Linked DNA regions of Homo sapiens: all the other regions are linked to region 1. The links are contacts of gene promoters, found by promoter capture Hi-C in blood cells and fetal thymus (Javierre and others, 2016). All regions are on one chromosome and are shown on one strand. The core of a region is centred on a gene start or on the middle of the fragment in contact, and the rest is flanking DNA. Distances in the headings are between cores, read along the strand shown.

Evidence for each region. Contacts are between HindIII fragments. The CHiCAGO score rates a contact against its expected background, and 5 or more counts as called.
Region 2: a contact is called between a fragment that was not itself captured here and the fragment with the promoter of PRRT3 in region 1, in 1 of 17 cell types (erythroblasts). The highest score is 5.3, in erythroblasts.
Region 3: a contact is called between a fragment that was not itself captured here and the fragment with the promoter of PRRT3 in region 1, in 2 of 17 cell types (erythroblasts and M2 macrophages). The highest score is 6.2, in erythroblasts.
Region 4: a fragment that was not itself captured here is called in contact with the fragment with the promoter of PRRT3 in region 1 in 15 of 17 cell types (endothelial precursors, activated CD4 T cells, naive CD4 T cells and 12 more); the score reaches 10.0 in endothelial precursors.
Region 5: a contact is called between a fragment that was not itself captured here and the fragment with the promoter of PRRT3 in region 1, in 2 of 17 cell types (monocytes and activated CD4 T cells). The highest score is 5.6, in monocytes.
Region 6: a contact is called between a fragment that was not itself captured here and the fragment with the promoter of PRRT3 in region 1, in 1 of 17 cell types (monocytes). The highest score is 5.2, in monocytes.
Region 7: a contact is called between a fragment that was not itself captured here and the fragment with the promoter of PRRT3 in region 1, in 2 of 17 cell types (M2 macrophages and total CD8 T cells). The highest score is 6.9, in M2 macrophages.

What each region holds. Positions count from the first base shown.
Region 1 is chr3:9,950,224-9,954,054 of GRCh38, reverse strand. PRRT3 (proline rich transmembrane protein 3) reads left to right here and starts at 1,647. Exons shown (of 4, transcript NM_207351.5): 1 at 1,647-1,733. All of the region lies in intron 3 of PRRT3-AS1 (PRRT3 antisense RNA 1), which reads right to left. RefSeq lists a silencer at 1,609-2,148. The HindIII fragment of the contact is 9,295 bases long and covers 1-2,161 here.
Region 2 is chr3:9,477,839-9,481,669 of GRCh38, reverse strand. SETD5 (SET domain containing 5) reads right to left here. Exons shown (of 23, transcript NM_001080517.3): 23 at 3,516-3,831. Among named protein-coding and RNA genes, the nearest start is that of LHFPL4, 74 kb to the left of the region's middle. The HindIII fragment of the contact is 2,021 bases long and covers 888-2,908 here.
Region 3 is chr3:9,495,908-9,499,738 of GRCh38, reverse strand. LHFPL4 (LHFPL tetraspan subfamily member 4) reads left to right here. Exons shown (of 4, transcript NM_198560.3): 4 at 1-1,378. Among named protein-coding and RNA genes, the nearest start is that of LHFPL4, 56 kb to the left of the region's middle. The HindIII fragment of the contact is 1,526 bases long and covers 1,329-2,854 here.
Region 4 is chr3:10,261,565-10,265,395 of GRCh38, reverse strand. All of the region lies in intron 3 of TATDN2 (TatD DNase domain containing 2), which reads right to left. Among named protein-coding and RNA genes, the nearest start is that of TATDN2, 15 kb to the right of the region's middle. RefSeq lists a silencer at 1,272-1,461. The HindIII fragment of the contact is 1,822 bases long and covers 1,126-2,947 here.
Region 5 is chr3:9,656,175-9,660,005 of GRCh38, reverse strand. All of the region lies in intron 2 of MTMR14 (myotubularin related protein 14), which reads right to left. Among named protein-coding and RNA genes, the nearest start is that of MTMR14, 8.6 kb to the right of the region's middle. The HindIII fragment of the contact is 1,454 bases long and covers 1,156-2,609 here.
Region 6 is chr3:9,675,961-9,679,791 of GRCh38, reverse strand. MTMR14 (myotubularin related protein 14) reads right to left here. Exons shown (of 19, transcript NM_001077525.3): 8 at 2,405-2,475; 9 at 1,734-1,808. Among named protein-coding and RNA genes, the nearest start is that of CPNE9, 26 kb to the left of the region's middle. The HindIII fragment of the contact is 349 bases long and covers 1,528-1,876 here.
Region 7 is chr3:10,208,895-10,212,725 of GRCh38, reverse strand. IRAK2 (interleukin 1 receptor associated kinase 2) reads right to left here. Exons shown (of 13, transcript NM_001570.4): 4 at 3,034-3,137. Among named protein-coding and RNA genes, the nearest start is that of TATDN2, 38 kb to the left of the region's middle. The HindIII fragment of the contact is 2,369 bases long and covers 528-2,896 here.

The DNA of each region.
Region 1 (3,831 bases), core at 398-2,897:
GCACCACCACACTTGGCTAATTTTTTTTTTTTTTTTTTGGTAGAGATGGGGTTTTGCCATGTTGCCCAGGCTGGTCTCGAACTCCTGGGTTCAAGCAGTCCTCCAGCCTTGGCCTCCCAAAGTGCTGGGAATATAGGCATGAGCCATTATACAGGCCAAATTTTCTTCTTCTTCTTCTTCTTCTTTTTTTTTTTTTTTTTTTTTTTTGTCAGTCTCGCTCTACTGCCCAGGCTGGAGTGCAGTGGTCATTGCACTCCAGTGACACAGCTTGTGGTCAATGGACAGAGTGGTCAATGCACTCCAGTGACACTCCAGTGGCCATAGCTTACTGCAATCTTGACCTCTTGGGCTCAAATGATTCTCTGGCCTCAGCCTCTGGAGTAGGTAGGACTACAGGCATGTACCACCACGCCCAGCTAGTTTTTTTGTTTTTTTGTTTGTTTTTTAATTTAAAAAAGTCTCACCATCTTGCCCATGCTGGTCTTGAACTCCTGGGCTCAAAATGATCCTCCTCTCTAGGCCTCCCAAAGTGCTGGGATTACAGGTGTGAGCTACTGCACCCAGCCCTATCTCATTTTTGATAACCACATATATTTCCTGTGTGGCTTTCCCTTAAGGAATTGAGCCTAATAATGGATGTTTAGTATATCAAGAGGTGTTCAAAGAAAGACCAAGAACATTTTGACAGTGTCTACCAGCCCCATATGCAGACCCATAGATTTTACTACCATGCCTCGGCTAGGCAATTATCTGGTAGGTGCACTAGTGTACGTGCACAGTGATGTGTTAAGCAAGGAATGGCCCCTGCTCCATTATCCCTGCGAGCAAAAGGCTAGAAACAACCTATGTCCAATTACAGGGGACAGGATAAAGAACAATAACTAGCTGACCATATGCTGGAATTCTCAACAGTGGATACAAGAAATGATATAGATCTATAGATATTTACATGAAAAATGTGCCAGAATATATTGGAAAGTGAAAAAGACAAATTACAGAAATGTGTACAGTGGCTGGGCACGGTGGCTGACGCCTGTAATCCCAACACTTTGGGGGTCCGAGGCGGGCTGATCACCTGAGGTCAGGAGTTCGAGACCACCCTGGCCAACATGGTGAAACCCTGTCTCCACTAAAAATATAAAAATTAGCCAGGCATGGTTACTAGGGAGGCTGAGGCAGGAGAACCACTTGAACCTGGGAGGCGGAGGTTGCAGTGAGCCGAGATCACGCCACTGCACTCCAGCCTGGGCGACAGAGCAAGACTGTCTCAAAAAAAAAAAAAAAAAGTATACAGTATGATGTCATTTCTATTTAAGATGTACATGTAACTGTACATTGAGAAGAATCTGAAGGATACATACCAAGCTGTAGGTAGGATTTACCTAAAAGGATGTAGGGATATAGAAAGGAAGTGAGCTCCCCGTCCCATGAGGTATGCAAGCAGAGGCTAGCTGCCCCGTTTTCAGGGATGCTGCAGAAGACATTTCCACATCCCTCAGAGATGACCTCGGTTCCACTCTGAGCCCTGACAATCCCTGAGCGAGGGGAAGTCAGGGTTGACAGAAGAGTCCACCCCTAAGGGGAAAGAGTTAAGCAGGGCTGCGCTCCTGTGGGCGGGCTCGCGATCGGCAGCGCCGGGCTCTGTTAGCCGAGTCTGAGCATCTCGGAGGATGCGGCGCGGCGATCGGCTGCAGGGACGCGCGCAAGGTGAACACGGGGGCTGCGGCGCGCAGGTGAGGAGCTGGCCCAGGGAGGGGGCGATGGCGGGACCCCGACGGGGAGCGTGGCCTGCTGCCCCCGTCGCGGGCGCAGGCGACCAGGCCTGCACGGCGCCCACCCCCATCCAGGACACTGCGGGAAGGCGCGGAGCCAGGGAGAGAGGAGACGGAGGAGGAGGAGGAGGAGGAGGAGAGGTAACCCGAGATGGACCAGCTCCGAGGCTGCCCCGCAACGGCCTCGCCCTGCCCCCAGGCCGGCCTCTCCCCAGTCCCTGCGGCAGAGAGATCCGCCACCCCCCACAGCCTCTCCAGCAGAGTGGGAGCCCAGGGCTGGGCAAGCCCCCGCCTTGTCCGCAGGTGCCCACATCTCTTGGGTTGGCAGTGGTAGGCAGATGGCATGTTTATCTTTGGAGGCCCCATTCAGCCGTTTTCTCGGCAAAGCTTTTTGGACCTCCTGTGGAAGATGAGCCTCCGAGGGTTTCACAACCCCGATTGTGTCCACTCAGCTGTGTGACCTTGGGGGAGTTGCTCACCCTCTCTGAACCCCCGTTTCTTCCCCCTGTGAAATGGCTGTTCCCACACCTTGTATTGGGAGGGCGGAGTGACGTGTTGCTAAGCTCAGCGCAGGAGCCTCACTGGGAAAGAACTAAACACAGGAGCACTGTTTTTAGCCAGTACCTGTGTTAGGGGCGTCTCAGCGCACCCCTACTCCCAACCCTGGAGCAAAGCCCTGTCTCTGGGCCCCCAGCACCTAGCCTAGACCAGGAGCAGCCCATGGGGCTCCGTGAATGTTTGAGAAATGAACTAACAAGGCTTTAAGACAGAGTCTAAACTCGAGTTTGGAGGATGGGACTCAAAGGTCTTTGAACCCCTTGAAATTGTTCACAACTTTCGGTGAGCCTGGGTCTTTTCCCCGGGAGAGCACCAGGGGTTTTCAGTGGCTTCTTAAGGTGTCTGTGAGCCACCATGGGTTAACAGCCAGGAAGCTTTGGGGACAGCTGCTCCCCAGAGAGGAAAAGAGCAGGGCCTCTGCCGCCAAACACACCCAGGCTTCAGCTCTCGCACCCTCCATGAAACCTCTCCTGGTGGTGGGGCCCCTTCCTGCCTCCCTGGCCCACTGACAGGCTCTCGAGAACAGGAACTTTTAGGGGATATCCACGTGGGGCCAGGTATATACTGGAGGCTGCAGGTTTGAAATAAGAGGCAGGAGATTATTATAGAATCAGACCAGAGTGACAAGTGCCCAGGAAGATGAGGGAAGGAAGGCGGGAAGAGGAATGTGTAACGCTTGTCAAGCATCAGGTATGAACCTCGCCCATACCTGTTTGGTTATTTGTCTCATGCCTTGAGTTAGGCATGCTTATTATCCCCATTTTACTGATGGGAAAACTATGATGCAGAGAGGTGAAATGACTCCCCCAGGAAATGAAGACACTGGGATTCAAACTCAGGCCCCTCGCCAAAGGCCGGTGCATATTCCTCTCCCTCTCCACGTCTCTCATTTTTGAAGTGGGCCTTTAGGAATAACATTTCAGGCAGGGTGCAGTGGCTCATGCCTGTAATCCCAGCACTTTAGGAGGCCAAGATGGGCAGATTACCTGAGGTCAGGAGTTCAAGACTAGCCTTGCCAACATGGCAAAACCCCATCTCTATTAAAAATATAAAAATTAGCCAGGTGTGGTGGCACATGTCTGTAACCCCAGCTACTCGGGAGGCTGAGGCAGGAGAATCACTTGAACCTGGGAGGTGGAGGTTGCAGTGAGCCGAGATCACGCCACTGCACTCCAGCCTGAGCGACAGAGCAAGACTCCGTCTCAAAAAGAACAGGATTTCAGTAAGTGAAGGGGAAGGGAGAGAGCATTCCCTGCTGACAGAACAGCAGAAGCAAAAGGCATGGGAGCCACACAGTCCAGTGGGTGTTGGAGGACAGATGAACAGCTTGTGGTGGCCAGGGTCTTGGAAGGCCAGGAGAGGAGCTTATGTTCTTTCTTGAGGGAAATGGGGAGCCACTGAAGGTTTTAAAGCAGGGCAAGTGCCACGTCCAGCAATTTTAAAAGCAGAGAAGCTGCTGCCTTGCGTTGCTTTTCTTTCCTGTCAGCCCCTTGAGGAAGGC
Region 2 (3,831 bases), core at 649-3,148, 470 kb after region 1:
TTTTTAATGCAGGAGCAGGTAAAAGTTACAAGAGCACCATCTCCTTCAATGACTATGCTCTCCTCCAAACTGTTTCCATCATCTATCTTTAGAACTGACCATTTTAAGAACCCCTGGCAGGCCAGGTGTGGCGGCTCATGCCTGTAATCCCAGCACTTTAGAGGCTGAGGCAGGAGGATCGTTTGAGCCCAGCCTGGGCAATATGGCAAGACCCTGTCTTTACAAAAAAATAATTAGCTGGGCGTGGTGGTGCAGGAGAATTGCTTGAGCCCTGGAGGGTTAAGGCTGCAGTGAGCTACGATTATGCCACTGCGTTCCAGCCCGGGTGACAGAGTGAGACCCTGTCTCTTAAAATAAAAACAGAACGAACCCTCGGTCAACTCCTTTCTCTGAGCCTCACAGCAGATTATGCGGGTTGTCATCAGTGCAGTTTAAAAGCAAAGGGCCTGCTTCGTTTGGACAACTGCATTTTTTTTTTTTCTTCATGGTAACCTCTGCTAAACAGAGAACCCTACACTGTCAAACTGACACCTGGGGGGCAAAAGGGCCAGACTGCTGTTTTTAAGACAGTAAAGGGTACCATATACTTTTTCAGCTAGGTAAGTGATTTCTGGTCATAGTGTCACAGCATCTCTAGCTGTTTCTATTTGTTTTCTGGGTTAACTGCAAAATTTCCAAAACTGTTGGTTTGGGTCTGCCACTTAAAAGAGAGAAATCTTGAATAAGTTGTATCTTCTGAACTTATACCTACCTTGCACATTGTTACATGTAAATGAGGTAGCTGATGACTTAAGTGGAGTCCAGGAAAGTGTAAAGTGACATAGAAGGTGCCACTGTTGCACTGGCCTCTTTAATTAATATTGTCTAGCTTCTATTTACACCAAGCTTGTCCAACCCACAGACCACGGGCTGCACGTGGCCCAGGATGGCTTTGAATGCGGCCTAACACAATCATAACTTTCTTAAAATATATATATATTTTTAAGCTCATTAGCTATTGTTAGTGTATTTTACATGTTGAATAATTCTTCCAGTGTGGCCCCGGGAAGCCAAGAAGATTGGACACCTCTGATTTACACCATATCAAAAGCAAAGTCCCTAGCAACACAGTAAGTACTTGAAAAGAATAGCAAATAGGTTAACTCTGAATGGGCAGTTGACTGTCTTACCTTGATATTCTCAGCACCTCAGATATAGCCTAGCACACAGTAGGTGTTCAGCCAATGGTCATGGAACAGAACCTTCCAATTATGGCAGAAATCAGTTAGTTTTATTCATTATCAGAAGCCCAGTGCTATAGCTGAAACACTGTACTAGGTCTCAATTTCTCATCTTTAACTTCTGGCATTTGGCTTGCTTTCTTCACAGAATTATGAGTCAAAATAAGACACTGTATATGGAAACACTTTCTAAAGATCATGCACACTATTCTCTTCCTAACCCAGGTAGAATCAGGTTGTGGTTGGTGGTAGGTTACCTAGGTATTCCTAGGGCATTTTGGAGGGATCTTCTAATAAAACAAGTGGTTTTGTTATGTTTCCACTTTCTATTTTCTTTTGAGACGGAGTCTCGCTCTGTCGCCCAGGCTGGAGTGTAGTGGCACGATCTCGGCTCACTGCAACCTCTGCCTCCTGGGTTCAAGCGATTCTCCTGCCCCAGCCTCCCAAGGAGCTGGGATTACAGGCACGCACCACCACGCCCGGCTAATTTTTGTATTTTTAGTAGAGACAGGGTTTCACCATGTTGTTCAGGCTGGTCTCAAACTCCTGATCTTGTGATCCGCCTGCCTTGGCCCCCCAAAGTGCTGGGATTACAGGCATGAGCCACCACGCCCAGCCTTCCATTTCTAAACTCCTTCAACTAATAAATAGCATCTTCATCTTTGAATCCCTTATGTGCTTTGCAAACTGCAGTCTACCTTAGTTACTCAGTAAACATTTGTCAAACAAATGTTAGAATACTGCCAATTCAATCCATTGGCAAGTTCTGCTGTGTACTTGCAAAACATATCCTGACTCCAATCACTTCTTATCCCCATCATTACCGTCTTAATAGAAGCCACCACTGCATTGTTGCTTGCCTGAACAACTGCTCTACCTTCCACACCAGTTTCTCAGCTCCTATTCATCTCTTCACCAACAGGATCAAAACAATCAGAGTAATTTTTAAAAATCAACCAAATATAAATTAGACAATGTCACTTCTCTCCTTAAAATCCTGCAATGACTCCTCCACTGTACTTACTGAATGCAGATTATTTAAATTATACCTACAAGGTTCTACATTAGAGACCAGCAAACTACAGCCTGCAAACCAAATCCAACTTGCCACTTGTTTCCTGTAAATAAAGTTTTATTGGAACATAGCCACATACTGTCTATGCCTGCTTTTGCACTGCAATGGAAGAGCTGAATAGTTGTTTTTTTTTTTTTTTTTTTTTTTTTTTTTGAGACAGAGTCTCGCTCCATCACCCAGGCTGGAGTGCAGTGGAGTGACCTTGGTTCACTATAACCTCCTCCTCCCAGGTTCAAGAGATTCTCCTGCCTCAGCCTCCTGAGTAGCTGGGATTACAGGTGCGCACCACCACACCTGGTTAATTTTTGTATTTTTAGTAGACAGGGTTTTGCCATGTTGGCCAGGCTGGTCTCGAACTTCTGACCTCAAGTGATCTGCTCTCTTGGGCCTCCCAAAGTGCTGGAATTACAGGCATGATTCGCACCCAGCCAAAGGGCTGAATAGTTATGACAGAGACCATACATGGCTTGCAAAGTCTAAATATTTACTATCTGGCCCTTTATAGAAAGAGTTTGCCGACTCCTGCTCTACATGATCTGTCCCCTATCTCCCTCTTACAGGATCTTCTATCCTCTTTCCCAGCCCCATCCATTTATTACATCTTAACCAAGCTTTTTCTACCACAGAGTCTGCAACGTTCAAGAATGAATTTCACTCACATCGTCCCAGGACTGCCTCCTTGTCACTGAAGTCTCAGTTTAAATGTCAACTCCTCAGAGACTTTTCTTGACCAACCAATCTAGAGTGGCTCCTTCAACTGTCTTAGTCACATATCTGCTATGAAACAATTAACATGGCAATGACTATTTAAAATTATATACTAGTTTAGTTCTCTCCTCCACTAGAATGTAAACTCCATGAAAGAAGAGACCTTACTTTGCCCACCCCCAATCAGCATTCTAATCACCATAAGCCCAGCACCAAAAACAATGTCCAGCATTGTTTTTGAATGAAAAAGACCAATAAATAGTTGCTGAATGAATGAGGCCAAGGTCAGGAACACCACTCAAGTTCAAGGCAGTTTTTAATGTTCACTTGCCCTGCTGCAGGTTTGCCTTCACACTGTCCTGACTGCAATCATAAAAAGCGAAGGAAGATCAGACAGTATTCCTGGCCCCATTATCATGGGCAAAACAACTCCACCAAGGGCACATTCTCCTCAGATAAAAATGGCATTAGGAAAACCAGGCAAGGCAGGGCCACAAAATTGGACAAAGAAGTTCTCAACTTTATGATTATTATGGTTAAGAATTTTATTATCAAAATTATTACATCTCTTGTGAAAGTTCAAATGTTACAGCAAGGTGTAAACACTCCACTTGAGAAAGAAGTGATACTTCTTCCCTTCCAAGAGTTCCCCCCACCCCCCCGCCCCTACCCCCCCAAGAGGTCTGGTCTTGACAGCACCCTGCCCACACAGAGTGGCTGGGGTCTCTGCACGTGCCAGGCAGGGTGAGGGCCGCCTGCCCGCTGGCCTCTCCCCTTGGTTAAATAGCCAAGGGGAGAATGCAAACCCCAGCCCAAATGGAGAGACAT
Region 3 (3,831 bases), core at 842-3,341, 450 kb after region 1:
CCCACCAAACCTGTGCCCTGGTGCGGGGGATAGAACTGACCTTTCAGAGGCTGGAGGCCCGGGGCACAGGCAGCCAAGGCCGCATCCTTTTGGGAAGAACTGGAGTGAAGGAAGCCACTTCAGAGGACGTAGTGGGTCCAGCTGACTTAGGAGTGGGTCAGCGCCGGGTGGAGAGGAGGGAGGCTAGTTCCCTGGTGGGGTAGCCTGGCAACATTCCCATTCCACCGCACCTGGCCAGCTGCCATCTTGGCAGAGCCAGGGGGAGATGCACCAGGGAGTTTGGAGTCAGGAAGGCAGAGTTGTGTGGGCTGAAGTCTGCGGGAACCCCAGGGTGACACAGGCAAGGGGTAGAAGTCAGAGTGGGGACCAAACCATAGACTGGGGCCCTGGGTTCTGCAGAGGTGTGGATGGGGCAGGTGGCAGGTGCTCCAGTGGGGGCCCCAGGTGAGGCCCTGATGGCCCTCCTGGGGCAATAAAGACATCATGGGAAGGGGGCTTTGTGGTTTGCCTCTGCTCTCGTCGGGCGATCTGGCTTTAGCCTTCAGGAGGAGGTAAGCAGAGGAGATCAGTGCCTGTTTCTGACCCCAGGAGGGCCTTGTTGGGCTCCAACCTAGAGCCTTCCGGCTTCAGGTCCCAAGAGAAGTCCCCCCCTAACTGTGACCCCCCTAACTGTGATCAGGGGTCTGCCATTGCCCGCTTTTCTCTGCCTGATCTGGGGACTCAGGAGAGGCCACGGCAGCCACAGCCTAGGGGTGGTTCAGTCCCTGGCCCACAGTCTGGTCAGTTGAGTCCTTCTGGGAACCGGGGCTATGAAAACTTTCGTCTTTGGGGACCGGTACCCATGAAGGAAAACTTTCCTGAGGGGGTGAGGACCAAAGAATCAAGATCCTTTTCAGGCCTGATAGCCAAGATGATGAGAACTTTTAGATAAGGCTGTGGGGAGAGTCCCTGGCCTTTTGAGCATCCTGCTTGGGCACACGGGGAATAACCTTTCTCCAGCTTCCAGTGTGAACTGAGAAAGAGAAAGGGAAACCCTGTCTTTGGAGAAGCTGGGATGTTCCCAGCACCAGAAACTTCTGCAGGCCCCTGCCTGGCCCACGGCTAACCTTTGGGTGGGACTGGAGTTTCCTGAACAGGGAACAAGGGAGCCTTCCGCAGAGCTCTGATGGGCAGGCCTCCGAGGGCCTGTGCTGTGTGCTGTTAGGATAGCTTGGTGTTGTCTATACCCCATTAGTAAGTTTTGTCTGAGTGTGTCCTCGCTGTTCATTGTCTAATTTGGTAACATTTATTTTGGTCCTGACCCCTTCTGCTGCTGCTGGGTTTAAGCTTCAGTGCAGGTGGAATGACATTCAAATAAAGAAACACTTTCTATCACCCACGCTGGCTGCCACTTCTCTGAGTCACTGGGATCAAGAGGGGTAAGATTCCAACCCTATGGATCAGGTTTGTCTGGTATTAACAGAACCCTACTACTGTGGCTTAACAAGATAGTTTATTTTACCATCACATTAAAAAAAAAAAAAAAAAAAAAAAAAGCCTGGAGGTGGGTAGATCACGGCTGATATGGCTCTCAGTGTTATCCAGAACCCAGGCTCCTATCTTTCTGCACTGCCATTTTCAATCCTGGCTACATCCTCAAGAACACCTCATGGCCCAACGTGGGCTGCTGGAGCTCCAGTCACCTGGTCCACATTTCATTTGAAGACTTCTGGAAATTCCATAGGACTGTGTCACTTGGGCCACATAACAGTAAAGGAGGCTGAAAAAGTGTGGTCTGTTATCTCGGCGCATTGCCAGCCCAAATAAAACTGGGGTTCTTGGCCGGGCAAGGTGGCTCATGCCTGTAATCCCAGCATTTTCAGAGGCTGAGGTGGGTGGATCACCTGAGGTCAGGAGTTTGAGACCAGCCTGGTCAACATGGCAAAACCCTGTCTCTACTAAAAATACAAAAATTAGCCAGGCATGGTGGTGCGTGCCTGTAATCCCAGATACTCAGGAGGCTGAGGCAGGAGAATTGCTTGAACCCAGGAGGCGGAGGTCGCAGGGAGGTGGGATGGCGCCATTGCACTCCAGCCTGGGCAACAGAGCAAGACTCCGTCTCAAAAAAAAAAAAAAATAGGGTTCTGATACAAAGGAGAAAGGAGTGAATAGAGAGAGGGATACAGTAATCTCTGCACACCTCTGACAGCACAGGCACGACTTGTCCAAGTCCATACAGGCAGAAAAGAGTAGAGCCTCATCTGCTCTAGCCAGAGTGCTCAGTCCAGTCACTTTGCCTCTCTCTAAAGCCCCATTGAATAAATAGAGAAAACAATAGTGACTCCCCCAAGGGAAGCTGTAAGCAACATACCAGGGAATATATGCACTTTGCTCTGCAGGGTATCTGGCACGCTGTAATGTGCGCAGTACCAGGTAGCTACATTGAAGACTTGGAAATGGAGTCCTCTTCCAACACATTTTAAGCACTTAGTGTATGCTAAGCACTTAAGCTAGAAAAAAAATGAGCAAAACAGAGATGCTGTCTTAAGCATAATTCTGGTTGGGGAGATGAACATGTGAAAATAACGCATGACTTGCCACATGCAGGGTATTGTGGGTATCCTAGGCAGGAATACTTTAAATGGCTTTTGGTGACGTGGGCAGCGTAGGAGGAGGTCTTGCTGTAGGATGAGAAGTTAGGCAGGAGGGGTCAGGAAGGTCAAAGAGAAGGCAGCTTGAGGAAAAAGACTGAGGTAGGCAGCAGAACTGTGTATGGAGGACGAAAAGCAACTTAGTTTGAAATGTGAAGTACGAGGCAGGGAGGAGTCAGAGATGAGTCTAGAGAGACAGGCGAGGGCCAGACCATGAGAAAGCTTGGGGGCCATGGACAGGAGTTTGGACTTAAGAGCAATGGGGAACCACTGAAGGATTTGAAGCAGAAGGAAAAATGACTCAATTTGCATTTTAGAAAGAGCACTCTGGTGGTAGCATTAGGGGGCTGGATTAGGGGTAGACTGTTAGCCCATTTCTGCATTGTTATAAAGCCATACCTGAGACTGCATCATTTGTTTTATTTATTTATTTTGAGATGGAGTCTCCCTCTGTTGCCCAGGCTGCAGTGCAGTGGCACAATCTCAGCTCACTGCAACCTCAGCCTCCCTGATTCAAGTGATTCTCCTGCCTCAGCCTCCTGAGTAGCTGAGATTACAGGTGTGCACCACCACACCCGGCTAATTTTTGTATTTTTAGTAGACATGGGATTTCACCATGTTGGCCAGGCTGGTCTCAAACTCCGGGTCTCAAGTGATCCACCCGCCTCAGCCTCCCAAAGTGCTGGGATTGCAGGCATAAGCCACTGCACCTGGCCTGCATAATTTATTTTTATTTTTTTGAGACAGGGTCTTGCTCTGTCACCCAGGCTGGAGTGCAGTGGTGAGATCACAGTTCACTGTAGCCTCAACTCCCAGGCTCAAGCAATCCTCCCACCTCATTCTCCCAGGTAGCTGGGACCATAGGCACCACCATGCCTGGCTATCTCTTTTTTTTTTTGAGATGGAGTCTCACTCTGTTGCCAGGCTGGAGTGCAGTGGCATGATCTCAGCTCACTGCAACCTTTGTCTCCCGGGTTCATGCAATTCTCCTGTCTCAGCCTCCCAAGTAGCTGAGACTACACACGTGCACCACCACGCCCAGCTAATTTTTGTATTTTTAGTAGAGATGGGGTTTCACCATGTTGGCCAAGATGGTCTCGATCTCTTGACCTCGTGATCCACCCACCTTGGCCTCCCAAAGTGCTGGGATTATAGGCGTGAGCCACTGCTCCCGGCCTTATTATTATAATTTTTTATAGAA
Region 4 (3,831 bases), core at 787-3,286, 310 kb before region 1:
TTTTAATTTTTAAAGTTCTGGCCGGGCGTGGTAGCTCATGCCTGTAATCCTAGCACTTTGGGAGGCCGAGGCAGGTGGATCACCTGAGGTCAGGAGTTCAAGACCAGCCTGACCAGCATGGTGAAATCCTGTCTCTGCTAAACATACAAAAATTAGCCAGGCATGGTGGTCCATGCCTGTAATCCCAGCTGCTCAGGAGGCTGAAACAGGAGAATTGCTTGAACCCAGGAGGCAGAGGTGGCAGTGAGCTGAGATCACACCACTGTATTTCAGCCTGGGCCACAGAGTGAGACTCTGTCTCAAAAAGACAAAAAAGAAAAAAAAATTGGCAGCAATAAAAAAAAAAAAAAACCACGCACAGGAAAAAAAAAAAAAAGACCAAAAAAAAAAAATCAACATAAACGTTAGAAGATAAACTTGAGCCAGGCGCGGTGGCTCACGCCTGTAATCCCAGCACTTTGGGAGGCCGAGGCGGATAGATCACCTGAGGTCAGGAGTTCGAGACCAGCCTGGCCAAAATGAAACCCCGTCCCTTCTAAAAATACAAAAATTAGACAGGCATGGTGGCATGCGCCTATAGTCCCAGCAATTCAGGGGTCTGAGGCGGGAGAATCGCTTGAACCTGGGAGGCAGGGGTTGCAGTGAACCAAGACCAAGCCATTGCACTCCAGCCTGGGTGGCAGAGTGAGACTCTATCTCAAAAAAAAAAAAAGAAGATAAAGTTGAAGAAACCATCCAGAAAAATTTTTTAAAAAGGATTCACTGGGAAGAAAAGAAAATTGGAATTTCCATCCGAAAGACCAAGCATAAAATAGATGGTCCAGAAAAAGAAGAAACAGACAAGAAATCAAATAATCAAGAAATTTTCCCAGAACTTTTCTAGGCTAAGGATGTACTGAACAAATTCGACTTATTTTACTCTTTCCTGAAACCTCACTAAAACTAAAGAATCTAAAAACCAAACAAAAAACAAATAAAACCCCTCTACAATAACAAAAACACCAGAACAGGAAGAACAAGAGACTACAGTGATCACGCACTGGAGGCTAGAAAGCAGATGGCCAAATAACACCTCACTGGCAGACCAAGAGAAGGCTGAGACCTAAGCTAGGCACCAGGAAAGCTTAGAACAGAGCAGGCACTCGCGGTACTGGGCACCTTGGGAACTGGAGGAACTGGAGTTACAGAAGAACATTAAAAGGAGGAGGACAGGGTGAAATCTGGTTTCCAATGAGTTAGATCCCAGATTCCCTCCTCATACTCAGAGAAGGTGAGTTGTTTGAAGACAGTAAAACAAGAGGATCTCTAGAATAAGGCCTGGTCAGCTCAGTGGAGGGCACTGGTACTGCACCAAAAAGACAAAGATTAAGTGAATGCTGACGCCGCCCCCGCAGCCGCCCCTTTCGCTACCCAGCTCCCAGCCACCTTTCCTCCTAAGCAGGCTGAAAAACACTCCTCTGGGCAAGGTGACCAGTCTCGAGGCTTTCCTAAAAGCAGTGACATGGCAAGGGGAAGAGGGTTATATTCTCCCGATCATCCCAAAGCAAAGCTCAAAGTCTTTACGCTCAGAGCTTCCAAACAGCTTTTTAATCCTCCCATTCTTGATCATAAACAGACAACCAAAGATTACCAGACATGTGAAGGCAGCCTCTAACACAGAAGAGATCAAAAGAAACGGAAAGAAGCAACTTAAAGAAAACTAAAACCAAGCCAAAAAACTACCATGAACTCCCTAAAAGAGATAACAGAAGATGAAACAAGAACAGAGATGTTATTAAAAAACAAAAGAGCTCTTGGATAATAAAAAGCATGACAGTAGAAAAGTAAAACTAAATAAACAGCTGGGTTGGAAGATAAAGAAAAGGAAATATCCTACAAAGTAAAGCAAGAAATTGGCTAGAAACAAGGGAGAAAGGCAATAAAATTACAGGACCAGTCCTGAAAAATCCAACATCCAAATAAGAGAAAGAAGGTAGAGAAGCTAGAGAGAGAAAGAGAGAAGAAAAATACGGAAAGAAAACATCAGCGAAGTACAGTAATTCACGAACTTTTCCCACAGCTAAAGTACAAGGGTTTCTAGATTGAAAGGGAATGTCCCATGCTAAGCAAAGTAGACACCACCACCATGAAATTTCAGAGCCCTGAGATCAAAATATATTCTACAAGATTCCACAGAGGGAAAAAAAAAAAAAATACAGGTTGGGCACGGTGGCTCACACCTGTAATCCCAGCACTTTGGGAGGCTGAGCCGGGCGGATCATGAGGTCAGGAGTTCGACACCAGCCTCACCAAAATGGTGAAACCCCATCTCTACTAAAAATACAAAAATTAGCCGGGTGTGGTGGCACATGCCTGTAATCCCAGCTACTCACAAGGCTGAGGCAGGAGAATCGCTTGAACCTGGGAGGTGAAGATTGCAGTGAGCTGAGATCACGCCACTGGACTCCAACCTGGGTGACAGAGCAAAACTCTGTCTCAAAGCAAAAGAAAATAAAAAATAAAAAATCATATACCAAGGTTCAGGAACCAGCATAGCTTCAGACATCAAGAAAACCAGAAGAGGCCAGGCGAAGTGGCTTACACCTGTAATCTCAGTACTTTGGGAAGCCTAGGCAGGTGGATCACCTCAGGTCAGAAGTTTGAGACCAGCCTGGCCAACATGATGAAACTCTGTCTCTACCAAAAATACAAAATTAGCCAGGTGTGGTGGCGTGTGCCTGTAATCCCAGCTACTCGGGAGGCTGAGACAGGAGAATCACTTGAACCCAGGAAGTGGAGGCTGCAGTGAGCCAAGATCACACCAGTGCACTCCAGCCTGGGCAAGACAGAACGAGACTCCACCTCAAAAAAAAAAAAAAAAAAAAAAAAGCCCAGAAGAAAAGGAGCAATGCCTTCAAAATCCCAAACAAAACAATTTCCAACCTGGAATTCCAAAACCAACCAAGCTTGTAATCAAGGTTAAAGGTAAAATAAAGGCAATCTCAGACACATGTTTACCAAAAAAAGTTTCTCCATGTACCCTTTCTCAAGAAGCTACTAGAAAAAGTATTCCACCAAAATGTGAGAGTAAACCAAGGAAGAAGAACATGAGAAGACACAGAGTATAGGTAGCAGAAGACTCAATCCGGGAGAAATGTGAAGGAGGCTCCAGAGAGACAGCTGCCAGCTGGCCTGACGGCAGGCAGTCCAGACCAGAGCAGGACAACAGAGGGCTGAGGACGTATACCTCCAAGAGAGAAAAAAAAGAAACAGATTCCTTATTTTGACAGTATTGAGAAGGATTTTACAGCTCTCGCAGTTTGGGGATTAATTAGTGAAAGGTACCAGGAAAACCAAAGGAAAAACAAAGTAATGATGAACTTTAAGGAAAATGAAGTTTTACAAGAAAGAAAATGTGATCAGAGTATACAAGGCGACTCAGCTGTGAACATGGCAGTAACAAATCTTACACAGACTTAACCCAAAAGGTATTCAAGCCACACAGGGAGGCTGCAGAAAGGGGAAGCTAATGTGTCCCTGGGTGTGGGTGCTTCTGAAGGAGGTATAGAGAACTAAATTCTCATCGCCCAAGCAAGAAGTCCTCAGACATCTAAAACTGAAAAACTGATCAACAGTAAAGATTATTTAGAAACATGGGGTAAGTACTAGAAGAAAGAGCTAAAGATGAGAGAAGCTGCCTGCAGAGCAGTAGTAAAGGATGGGTGGAGACGAGTAAGATGGAGGAATGTGGCCTGGCACAGTGGCTCATGCCTGTAATCCCGGCACTTTGGGAGGCCAAGGCAGGTGGATCACGAGGTCAGGAGTTCGAGACCAGCCTGGCCAACATGGAGA
Region 5 (3,831 bases), core at 633-3,132, 290 kb after region 1:
CGACTCTCACTTAGCTCATACCAGCCCTCTGAACCCTAAATGCCTACATCTGATTTTCCCAGGTTGAGTTGTAGCCTCAAAACCAAGGTGGATTTCTCAGGCTAAACTTCTGTTAAAAACAAACAAACAAAACACCCCTGGTGGAGGACACATCAGCATTTTCCTCTAGGGAGGATCTTTTAATGTAATGACCCACCTTTTCTTGTTAGGTCGGCCAGTGGTTCCTTTACCGGTTCCCCTACATCAAGCTCCAATTCAGTTTCTGGCCAGGCACAGTGGCTCATGCCTGTAATCCCACACTTGGGGAGGCTCAGGCGGCAGATCACCTGAGGTCAGGAGGTAAAGACCAGCCTGGCCAACATGGTGAAACCCCGTCTATACTAAAACTACAAAAATTAGACAGGCGTGGCAGCACGCGCCTCTAATCCCAGCTACTCGGGAGGCTGAGGCAGGAGAATTGCTTGAACCCAGGAGGCGGAGGTTGCGGTGAGCAGAGATCACGCCACTGCACTCCAGCCTGGGCAACAGAATGAGACTCCGTCTTAAAAAAAAAAAAAAAAAGAACCAATTCAGTTTCTGTTCTCTCACTTTTTCCTGTTTTTATTATCTCTTGTCCTTAGGATTCTTTTATTGCAGTGCTAAGCACTGAGCTGTGTCTGGCACATAATACTCACATTCGAAGGGATGAATGTAGGCTTCTGTATTTACATTTGTAATGTATGCACTGAAATTTCTGGCAAGATGTTACCAGGTAGTGAGATTTTGTTGTTTTTTTCCCAACAAGGTCTTCCTCTGTTGCCCAGGCTGCAGTGCAGTGGCGCCATGGTTCACTGCAGCTGACCTCCTGGGCTCAGGTGATCCTCCCACCTCAGACTCCCAGGTAGCTGGGACTACAGGCACATGCCACGATGCTTGGCTAATGCTTTGTATTTTTTGTAGTGACAAGGTGTCACCATGTTGCCCAGACTGTTTAATTCAGTCTGTTTTTTATTCAGTCTATTCAGTTTAATTCAGTCTCAAACTCCTGGGTTCAAGCGAAACGCCCATCTCGGCCTCCCAAGTAACTAGGATTATAGGCGTGAGCCACCATGCCCAGCCAAACTATTTTCAAATACAGAAGAAAATGCTGTTATCACATATTTCCAATAGGAAGCTTTCCCAGACAGGCACCACACTTACCAAACTGGGTGGCTTGTTCCTATAATGTACCCCACAACTTCCTGAGATAAATGTTACTGCTGCTACTATTTAATAGATAAGAGGCACAAAGTAGAGCTTACACCCACATTATCTCACTCAGTCCTCACTTACCCAATTTTACAGATGAGGTAGTTTAATGAGATGAAATCTCTAGCCCAAAGTCACAGAACAGGTAAACAGGGTAGCTGAGATTCTAAACCCTGTGGGTAGCCACTGGGCCCATGGTTTTAACCACTATCCGGCAGGGCCTCACCTGTACTTCCCCTAATTCCAGCTTTTATTAACAATTATTGCTTCTTTATTGGACTCTGTTTCCCACTAGACCTACTGGTAAGGACTTCATCTATCTGGCTTCCAACTTGATCCCTGAGGTCTACTACACAGCAGCAGCTGAACGAACACTGTTGACAAACATGTCTTAGCTATTCAGAGATCCCTGTCCAGGCTTCTATTCCCAGATGATGAACCAAATTGGAGAGGTTCCTTAACAGGACCAAAACATTGCTTAAATCCAATTCTACCCTGTTTAATTCAGTCTATTTTTTATTCAGTCTATTCAGTTTAATTCAGCATCATAGTAACAGCCAAGCCAGACAGTAAAAAAGCAAAAAATGCTATTTCTTCCCACCCAAACATACCCGAAGTCCCCCCTTTCAACAAGCAGGCATCACCCACTCAACATCACTTCAGTAACACTTTAAGGCCTTGCAAGGAGTGAAAAGTAAAAACAAACTCCAACAAGCTCCTCTAAGGTTAATCATGTTCCACAGTGGCCTTGGCCTAACTGTGAGGTTCTGCTAGACAAGGTGGGAGAGCCGTGGTGGTGAAAGATAAGGCAGACAGGTACAGAGTCAGGAAATACAGCTTTTAACCCCACTCTGCTTACTACCTCTGTGATCTTCGGCAAAGGCAAATTACTTCTCTGGGCTTCAACTTCATCTATAAAAGAGTGGTGAGGGCCAGGCGCGGTGGCTCATACCTGTAATCCCAGCACTTTGGGAGGCCGAGACCAGTGGATCACGAGGTCAGGAGTTCAAGACCAGCCTGGCCAAGATGTTGAAACCCCGTCTTTACTAAAAATACAAAAATTGGCCGGGCATGGTGGCACGCGCCTGTAATCCCAGCTACTAGGGAGGCTGAGGCAGGAGAATCACTTGAACCTGAGCGGCAGAGGTTGCAGTGAGCCAAGATCACTTGCGCCACTGCACTCCAGCCTCAGCGACACAGCAAGACTCCATATCAAATTGAAAAAAAAAAAGAGTGGTGATACTGTCTTCTTCACTGAATAGTTGTAGGGCTTAAGCTAGCAAGTAAAACCTCAACACCTGCCAAACAGAGGTACTCAACAAATACTAGTTTCAGTCTCTTTAAGGGATCAACACTAAACTTGTTTCCTTCCAGGAAAAGCTTTTACAAGGCAACCACCACTACGTTTCTCAATGTACTATTATGTTACTGAAGGGTAACATTTGGTATTACCTGAGAGCTTGTTAGAATATGCCAAATCGCAGGCCCACCTCAGGTCTTCTGAATCTCTGCATTGTAGAAAGATCCCCAGTTGATTCACTCATAAAATCAACATAGAAAAGAACCACTCTGTTGGGTGCGGTGGCTCTCACCTCTAATCCCAACACTTTGAAAGGCCGAGGTGAGGAAATCTGTTGAGCTCAGGAGACCCACCTGGGCAATGCAGCGAGACCTGGTCTCTACTAAAAATTAAAAAAAATCAGCTGGGAGTGGTGGTATGTGCCCATATTCCCAGCTACTTGGGAGGCTGAGGTGGGAGAATCACTTGAGCCCAGGGGATCAAGGCCGCAGCAAGCCATGATTGTGCCACTGCATTCCAGACCCCGTCTTAATTAAAAACAAAAACAAAAACAAAAAAACCCACCTTGATTACAGCTGAGCTTAATATCAGAATGTCATCATCAGGGCACAGAGGTAAAACCACCAGCCAGCCAGCACCAAAGAGGGTAGGAAGAAGGGGAACGAAGAGAATGGCAAGGCAAAAACAAAGAAAACAAAACAAAACAAAACCCTCTTGTTCAGAAACTTTAGCTTAAAGATTTACGGAAACTAAGTTTACCCAGCTGGGCGCGGTGGCTCACACCTGTAATCCAGCACTTTGGGAGGCCATGGCAGGCGGATTGTTTGAGCCCAGGAGTTGAGACTAGCCTGGCCATCATGGCAAAACCCATCTCTACTAAAATTCAAGAACTAGCCAGGTGTGGTGCCACACACCTGTAATTCCAGCTACTTGGGAGGCTGATGCACAAGGATCGCTAGAGCCTGGGAGGCAGAGGTTACAGTGAGCCAAGATGGCACCACTGCACTCCAGCCTGGGCAACAGAGCAAGATTCTGTCTTAAAAAAAAAAAGAAACTAAGCTTACCTAATTCTGGAAGGAGGAATTAAGGAAGAGCTAAGAACCATAAATAACAGGGCCATAACAAACCCCAATTCTTTAGGCTTGGCGATCCCAAGTTCTTAGGTTATATAACTGAGGATGTAATACTGTTTCTGTGATCTATTTACAAGAGCCCTTAACACTCTTTTCTTGGAGAACCCCACTACAACCTTGTGAAATGGGCACTCTTTTTTTTTTATTTTTTTGAGATGGAGTCTCACCCTG
Region 6 (3,831 bases), core at 453-2,952, 270 kb after region 1:
TTCATAATTATCATTACAATCTGTCTGGTATTTCAGTTCAGGAGTCCCTTTCAAGCAGTGATCATATTTGAGCCTGGCACAACTCTGAAATAGGTACTGCCAACACCATTTTCAGGGGGAAGTGAGGTCATCTGTTCAAGGCCACAGAGCCTTGCAGGAAGGGCCAGGCAAGCTGGGACCTAGATCTAGGGCCTGCATCTACTAAGCAGAGTACCTCCTCACACGCACAGGACCCCTTCCTAAAGAGGCAAACATCCTTGGGACCAGTGCCTGGAACTGTCACATCTCATTTGCTGAGTAGTTCATCAGATCCAGTTTGTACCTGCATAAGGAGAAAAAATGGTGCCGGAAGGGACCAGAAAGAGGGTGGCTTGGGGCAGAGTCTACTTGACCTCTGCATGCAGCACATAAAGAAGGAAGCCTGCCGGTTCTTTTATCTACTCAGTCTGTCTAGGCACAGCCTGGGACATGAGACCACAGCACAGGTACCCCAAACCTGTTCCTTCTCCAGGCTTCCAGACCATAACAAACAACTGGTCTGCTTTCCTCCCCAGTGCTCCCTCTCTTGCAAACACCTGCATTGGGGAACTCTGACATCACCCTACTTCATACACTCAAACAGTTGCTGTGAGCATAAACCTTGTGATTAGGGTCTGGATATATATAGAGAAAACAAGATGGACCTTGCTGCTATCAGGACAACAGGGTACTGACATTGGTGATCTAGGAGCACCCAGTTGCTTAACATAGATGGGTCAGCCTTTCAAAGAAAGAGAGATCTCAAGGCTGGGTGGGAGCTGTCCAGACCTGGGGACAGGGGAAACTAGCAGGGAGGCAGAATGTTTTCTGTTGCTCACTGGCTCAGTCTTTCAAGTTCTAGGCTCTGTGCCTGTTTCTGTGCTGGGACACACAAGCTGTGGGTCCCTGTCCTCCAGGATTTCAGGGAAGCAGATCTCTAAATCAGTGACTACAGCTCAGTGGAAAATTCCATGATGGATGTGCCCAGGGGGTTAATGGGAATATAGATGCAGGCATCCAACTCGCCAGGGATAAGGAAGAGGCAGATCAGGGAAGTCTTCCTGAAGCAGACACTCGAGCCAAAGCCTGAAGGGCAGTATGTCAGCCAGACAAGAGGAAGCTGAGAGGTGGCAGCCAGGCAGAGGAACAGGACATGGGAAAGGTCGCAGAAAAACAAAACTACTTGTTCTGTCTGAAGCAAGTGGCAAGCAAAGCTGCTGGCAGCCTTCAGACTGTGTGGGCTAAGGGTAGAGAGATGTTTCCAGTAAGACTAGAGGCCCCTTCCATGGTGTGCAATGACGGAGAAGAGCATGGTGGAAGTAATTTTAATGTTTCTATAATCAAATGAGGTCAGGCAGCTCTGTACTTCCTCTGGCTGAACACACATTTAAAAGGAAAAATGTAAAAGTAACTAAAGCCCAGATCTGGAATAGCAGACTCTATGAGGTCCTCTGGAAACAGAACCCCCTGGTGGATGCAAATCTTTGAATGAGTCACGTTCAGAAAGCTTTGATTTTCTGGGACATGAGCAAATCAGGAGATAGTTGAACGGACACACAATTCCTCCTTTCTGAGAGGACAGAGGGCCAAAGGCATCTGAGTGCACAAGCCAGCCCATCAGGCAAACACACGAGGGCCTTGTGGGGCAGGCATCAAGAGTCTCCTTGGTCACCACTCCCTTATCCTGCCCTCAATGCTTGAGTCAGGCCCCTCACCTGATACTGGCTCCAGTCAATGTTCAGAGAGTGAGTCAGGAAGTCGGGGATGCTCAATGGGGCATCAACGTAGTCCTGGGGACAGAAAGACTCCTGTGAGATGTGGGTTGGCCACCAGAGGAGGCTTAGGTGATGGGGAAGCTTGCAGTCCTGAGGCTGTGACTACCACAGGCAGTGCTTGCCTTCTCTGGGCCAGATACCTGTGCTACCTGGGAGTGACAGCTTAAAAATCAATGTGACCAGATCAGTATAGCTGAGTAGGAGTTTTTCAGTCGGACATTTGATGTCTGTTGCTGAAACATGCAAGATCAATATGTGTTCAGCTTCCGGCAGGTTTCCCATAGCCTGCCCCTACAGGCTGGGGAAGGCAAAGAATGCTGCCCCCAGCTTTCACACAGAGAGTACAGAAGGGAAGGGCTTTTCCTATCTTGTTTCTGAAAAATTCCCTTAAACAAAAGAGAAATAAAGGGGGGAGGAAAGTATAATGATGAAAATTTAACAAGTATATACAAGGAGAAGAGGGAGAGGAAGACAGAAACAATCAGGGAGGAAAGGGGAGTTATTTTCCCCAAAGACTGCTTGTTGTTTTCCCCAAAGACTGCTTGTTGTTCTCCTTGGCCTCCCTTTACAAAGAGACATAGATCCAATTTGATGTATGTTATTGCTCATACCTGCTTCCAGTTAAATATGAGCCCTTCTGCCATGTAATCCCGATCTTTATATTCCTTGAAAAATTCACAGCCTGGAAAAGAAGGGCAGAGTTATGACATCTCCCTTCCCAGCCCAAAGTCTTCTGAGACAGCCCTGGCCAGACCCAGGTCCCTGAGTGCTGTGGAGAGGGGGCCGCCAACTCACACTTCTCCAAGCTAGTGGCTTCAGTGAGGCCAAGGCTGACACGGGTGGGCAAAAGCCAGGGGCGAGCCTCTAGAGCCCCTCTGGTTTCCTGGCTGCATGCCTTTTCCACGAGGCACTGCCTGCTCTCAGCCTCTTTGTAACTTTCTCCATCTATGCTCACTGGTCACCAGTCACTTCCCCCACATTGCAAGTCCCTTTGTCCTACAGGTCTCTGTAGTGCCAATCCCAGTAAACAAAGGCATGACTCACAACGTGAGCCACTGCAGCCTAGCTGCAGAGGATCACTCTTCCTCTTCTCTAAAATGGGGGCAAATAATGCTAGCCTTGCAGGCTTTTAGTGAAGACTGAACATCCTAACATACTGGAAAGGCCCACGGACAGTGCCTAAAACCCGGTGCTCAAGAGACACTGCCATGCCCAACAAAGCAAGCAAAGAGGCACTTTTCTATATTCTTTGGTGGAAAAATCATAAGTAACTCCACCAGGACAAGCCCTCAGGAACAGAGAGAAACACTGGAGAGAATAGGGCTTTGGCAACATTCCCAGCTTAAAATCTCAGCTTTTTACTTAACACTGTAACGCTGAACAAGTTGTTTAATGTCTCTAAGCCTTGATTTTGTCATTTGTAAAATGGCTGTTTAAGGATGACATAATACATATAAAACACCTAGCACTGCACTGGTCCAAGTGACACTCAAATGGCAGCACACTATTGTCATCACGCTGCCACTGCAACAAGAGCCCACAGTGCCAGCCCACAGCGTGAAGTCAACTACTTTGCTCTGCGCTTGGAGTTGGCTGCCTTGGTCAGAGAGAATGCGTCTTGCCCCCCGGGCTGTGGCCTGCCCCTGCTGAGTCTGACTATAGCACAGAGAGCATCTGGTCCTCCAAGGAGCTCCTGGTGGCTTCAAGAAATATGGTGGGAGAAGGCACTTGGCTAGCTTGCAGTTATTCTCAGCACCTCAATCAGGGCCTCTACACAAACTTCAGACGGCACATGGCTTTGGCCACACCTCCAAGTCTGGTGAGGTCCCAGAGGCAAGAAAACAATCGTCCAAATTCAGGGGAAGTAGCCACAAAGAAGATTCACATGGAATGTCGCAGCAACTCTTGGGCCAAGTTCCTGTCTGAGGCCACCTCAGGGAAGATAGGAAAGCTTCCCTGGAGACCCAGCCCATGTTTTCCAGAAGTGGCTTTCATTCCATACACACCCTGCACTCTAATCCCCAGGCCTCGAGAAGTC
Region 7 (3,831 bases), core at 463-2,962, 260 kb before region 1:
TGTATCTTGCTCTGTGACCTTGGGTGAGTTACTTAACCTCTCTGAGCCTCAATTTTTTCCATCAGCAAAAATGAAGGTAACAATAGTACCCCGAAGAGTAATTTTGAAGACTAAGATGTGAGTATTCCTGGCACATGGTTGATGTTTCCTTTATTTCAGTTTACAGAAGTAAGCACTGAGGAAATAAAACAGCTGAAGTGAGGTCCCACAGCTGGTCAGTGGCCGAGCTCAGCACTCTTGGTCTAATTCACAGCATAGATACTGGGGTTCCAGACTCCTGGGAAGTAGGATACAGGTTCATATAACCAAACCAGGGGTGTCCAATTTTTGACTTCCCTGGACCACACTGGAAGAAGAATTGTCTTGGGCCACACATAAAATACACTAATACTAATGATAGCTGATGAGCTTTAAAAAAAAAATTGCAAAAAAAACTCATAATGTTTTAAGAAACTTTACAAATTTGTGTTGGGCCACATTCAAAGCCATCCTGGGCTGCACACAACCATGGGCAAGTAAGACAAGCTTGCTTTAAACAGAATTCCAGAGACTGCATGTGTATATAAGCCTATAAAAAGAAGTTCTGTTTCCGTTTTTAATAACTTCTCTCTTTAAAACACATGTACGTAATTTTTTTTTTTTTTTTGAGACAGAGTCTCGTACTGTCACCCAGGCTGGAGTGCAGTGGTGTGATCTCGGCTCACTGCAAGCTCCGCCTCCCAGGTTCACGCCATTCTCCTTCCTCAGTCTCCCGAGCAGCTGGGACTACAGGCACCCACCACCCTGTCCGGCTAATTTTTTGTAATTTTTTTAGTAGAGATGAGGCCTCACCGTGTTAGCCAGGATGGTCTCCATCTCCTGACCTCGTGATCCGCCCGACTTGGCCTCCCAAAGTGCTGGGATTACAGGCACGAGCCACCGCGCCCGGCCTAAATTTCAATTTTTTTAAGTTACATATGCTCTTAACAGTTTTTGAAAATTAGTATCCATAACCCCATTATCCATTTAACTGCTATTAAAGTTAGTGTATTTCCGGCCAATTAGATATACTAGGATTTATTTAACAAAACTGGTATCATGCCACACACATAGTTTTGATTTCTTTTTGAGACAGGGTCTCACTTTGACACCAAGGCTGGAGTGCAATGGCATGATGTCAGCTCACCGCAGCCTCAACCTCCCAGGCTCAAGGGATCCTTTCATCTCAGCGCCCCCAAGTAGCTGGGACTACAGGTGTGTGCCACCACGCCTGGCTTATTTTTTAAACTTTTTTTTTTGGCGAGGCCAGGCACAGTGATTCACTGCTTGTAATCTCACCATATGTGGGAGGCCAAGGCAGGCGGATCCTCTGAGGCCAGGAGTTCAAGACCAGCCTGGGCAATATGGTGAAACCGTGTCTCTACTAAAAATACAAAAATTAGCCAGGCGTGGTGGCACACACCTATAATCCCGGATACTCAGGAGGCTGAGGCAGGAGAATCGCTTAAACTGGGGAACCAGAGGTTTCAGTGAGTCGAGACAGCCTGGGCAACAGAGGGAGACTTTGTCTCAAAAAAACTTTTTGGCCAGGCACGGTGGCTCATGCCTGTAATCCCAGCACTTTGGGATGCTGAGGTGGGCGGATCACATGAGGCCAGGAGTTCAAGACCAGCCTGGCCAACATGGCGAAACCCTGTCTCCACTAAAAATACAAAAAAAAATTAGCCAAACATGCTGGCATGTGCATGTAATCCCAGCTACTCAGGAGGCTGAGGCAGGAGAATAGCTTGAACCTGGGAGGCAGAGGTTACAGTGACCAAGATCGTGCCACTGCACTCCAGCCTGGGCAATGGAGCGAGACTCCTCAAAAAAAACACAAAAACAAAAAAAACTTTTTTGTAGACACAGGATCTCACACTGTTGCCCAGGTTGGTCTCAAAGTACTGGGCTCAAGTGAACCTCCCATACCAACCTCCCAAAGTGTTGGGTTTATCCTTCATGGAAGGTTGATCTATTTATTAATTTAGAGATGGGGCCTCCCTGTGTTGCCTAGGCTGGTCTCCAACTCCTGGGCTCAAGCGATCCTCCCACCTCAGCCTCCCAAATAGCCAGGACTACAGGCATGTGACACCACACCTGGGACATGGAAGAGCTTCATTAACCACACTCATGCAAAGCTGGCTTCTCCCCCAGGCACTGGATGCAAAGGGTCTAGGCTCACAACACTTTTAGGGGCCATCAGAACATTTTAATTTATTTTAAAATCAGAAGAAAATAAATGGACTTTTAGAGTCAAAGAAATGTCCTCATTTTTAATCCTGCTTGGATTTTATTTATCTTCGTACCAATATGGTCATACATTTTTGGAGACAGGGTCTCACTCTGTCACCCAGGGTGGAATGTGGTGGTAGGATCACAGCTCACTGCAACTTCTGCCTCCTGGGCTGAAGCCATCCTCCCGCCTCAGCCTCCCAAGTAGCTGAGACCACAGGTCGAAAATAAAATAAAATAATAAAAGAAAATAATGGCCGGGTGCAGTGGCTCATGCCTGTAATCCAAGCACTTTGGGAGGCGGAGGCAGGTGGATCACCTGACGTCAGGAGTTCGAGACCAAGCTGGCCAACATGGTGAGACCCCGTCTCTACTAAAAATACAAAAAATTAGCCGAGCATGGTGACATGCACCTGTAATCCCAGCTACTTGGGAGGCTGAGGCAGGAGAATCACTTGAACCCGGGAAGCGGAGGTTGCAGTGACCCGAGATCGTGCCACTGCACTCCAGCCTGGGTGGCAGAGCGAGACTCTGTCTCAAAAATAATAATAATAACAAATTAAAAAACAAGAAGTATATTCACTGAAGTGCCCTCCCTCCCTCTCCCCGCTATTATTGACCTCCTCTACTTACAGTCTTAGAAGCTTGGGGTAATTTGATGGCAATTTCCTTTCTCCTCTCCACCCTTAAACTGGTCTCAAGGGGTAGAGAAATTGCATTTTTGAGAGGGAACTACACGCTGGGAGACATGGCTTGGGGGCTGCAGCCGAGGGGTGGATTTACCTTTGAATCAGACGAAGTGGGGAGGTCGCTTCTCAAGGAATGAGGGGCATCTTCTTCAGGAGGCTGGAGAAAGGCCGGCTGGTGGGCTCTGGCTGGAGAGGACCCTGGAAAGGAGGGACTATGGGTCAGGATGCAGCCTCGGGGAGGAAGACAGGAGGGATCCTGGTCTAGTCCTCAGACTATGCCAGTCTCCTGTTCACTCCCCAAACACTTGTTGCTGCCAATTCCTGACACCCACCATGTGCCAACCAACACACTCCTCAAGCATCACCTCAGGATAAGCCTCTGACTCCCCTACAACCTGGGGCCTGTTTATCATCCCAGTTGGCAAGTGGAGACACGGAGACACCGGAGGTAGACGCAGTGCTCAGGACCACCCAGCCAGTAGATGGTAGAGCCGAAATTCAGACGGAAATCTGTTTGACTTCTAGGCCCTGCACTATCTCACCTCCTACTCAAAGAGCAGAAAAAGACACAGAGGTGAACTAGCTACCAAGCCTGCCTTCCAGAAACCTCCACCAGGGCAGGGATGCAGTAACTATCCTCCGAGGATACATCCCACGGGAGAGCGAGGTCAGAGGCAGGAGAGACCATAACAGGCTGGGAGATGAGGAGGGTTCACAGAGGAAGTGGCACCTGACCTGGGCTTGAAATATGGAGAAACGTTTTCAACAAGCAGATATGGGGCAGTGGAACCAGCCCATGCAGAGGTGGGGCAGTAGAAGGGCCCGGGGCTGGAGTAAGTTAACATCTAGGTACATGAGTTAGCAAACATCATGCCAGGCACTGTTCTAAATA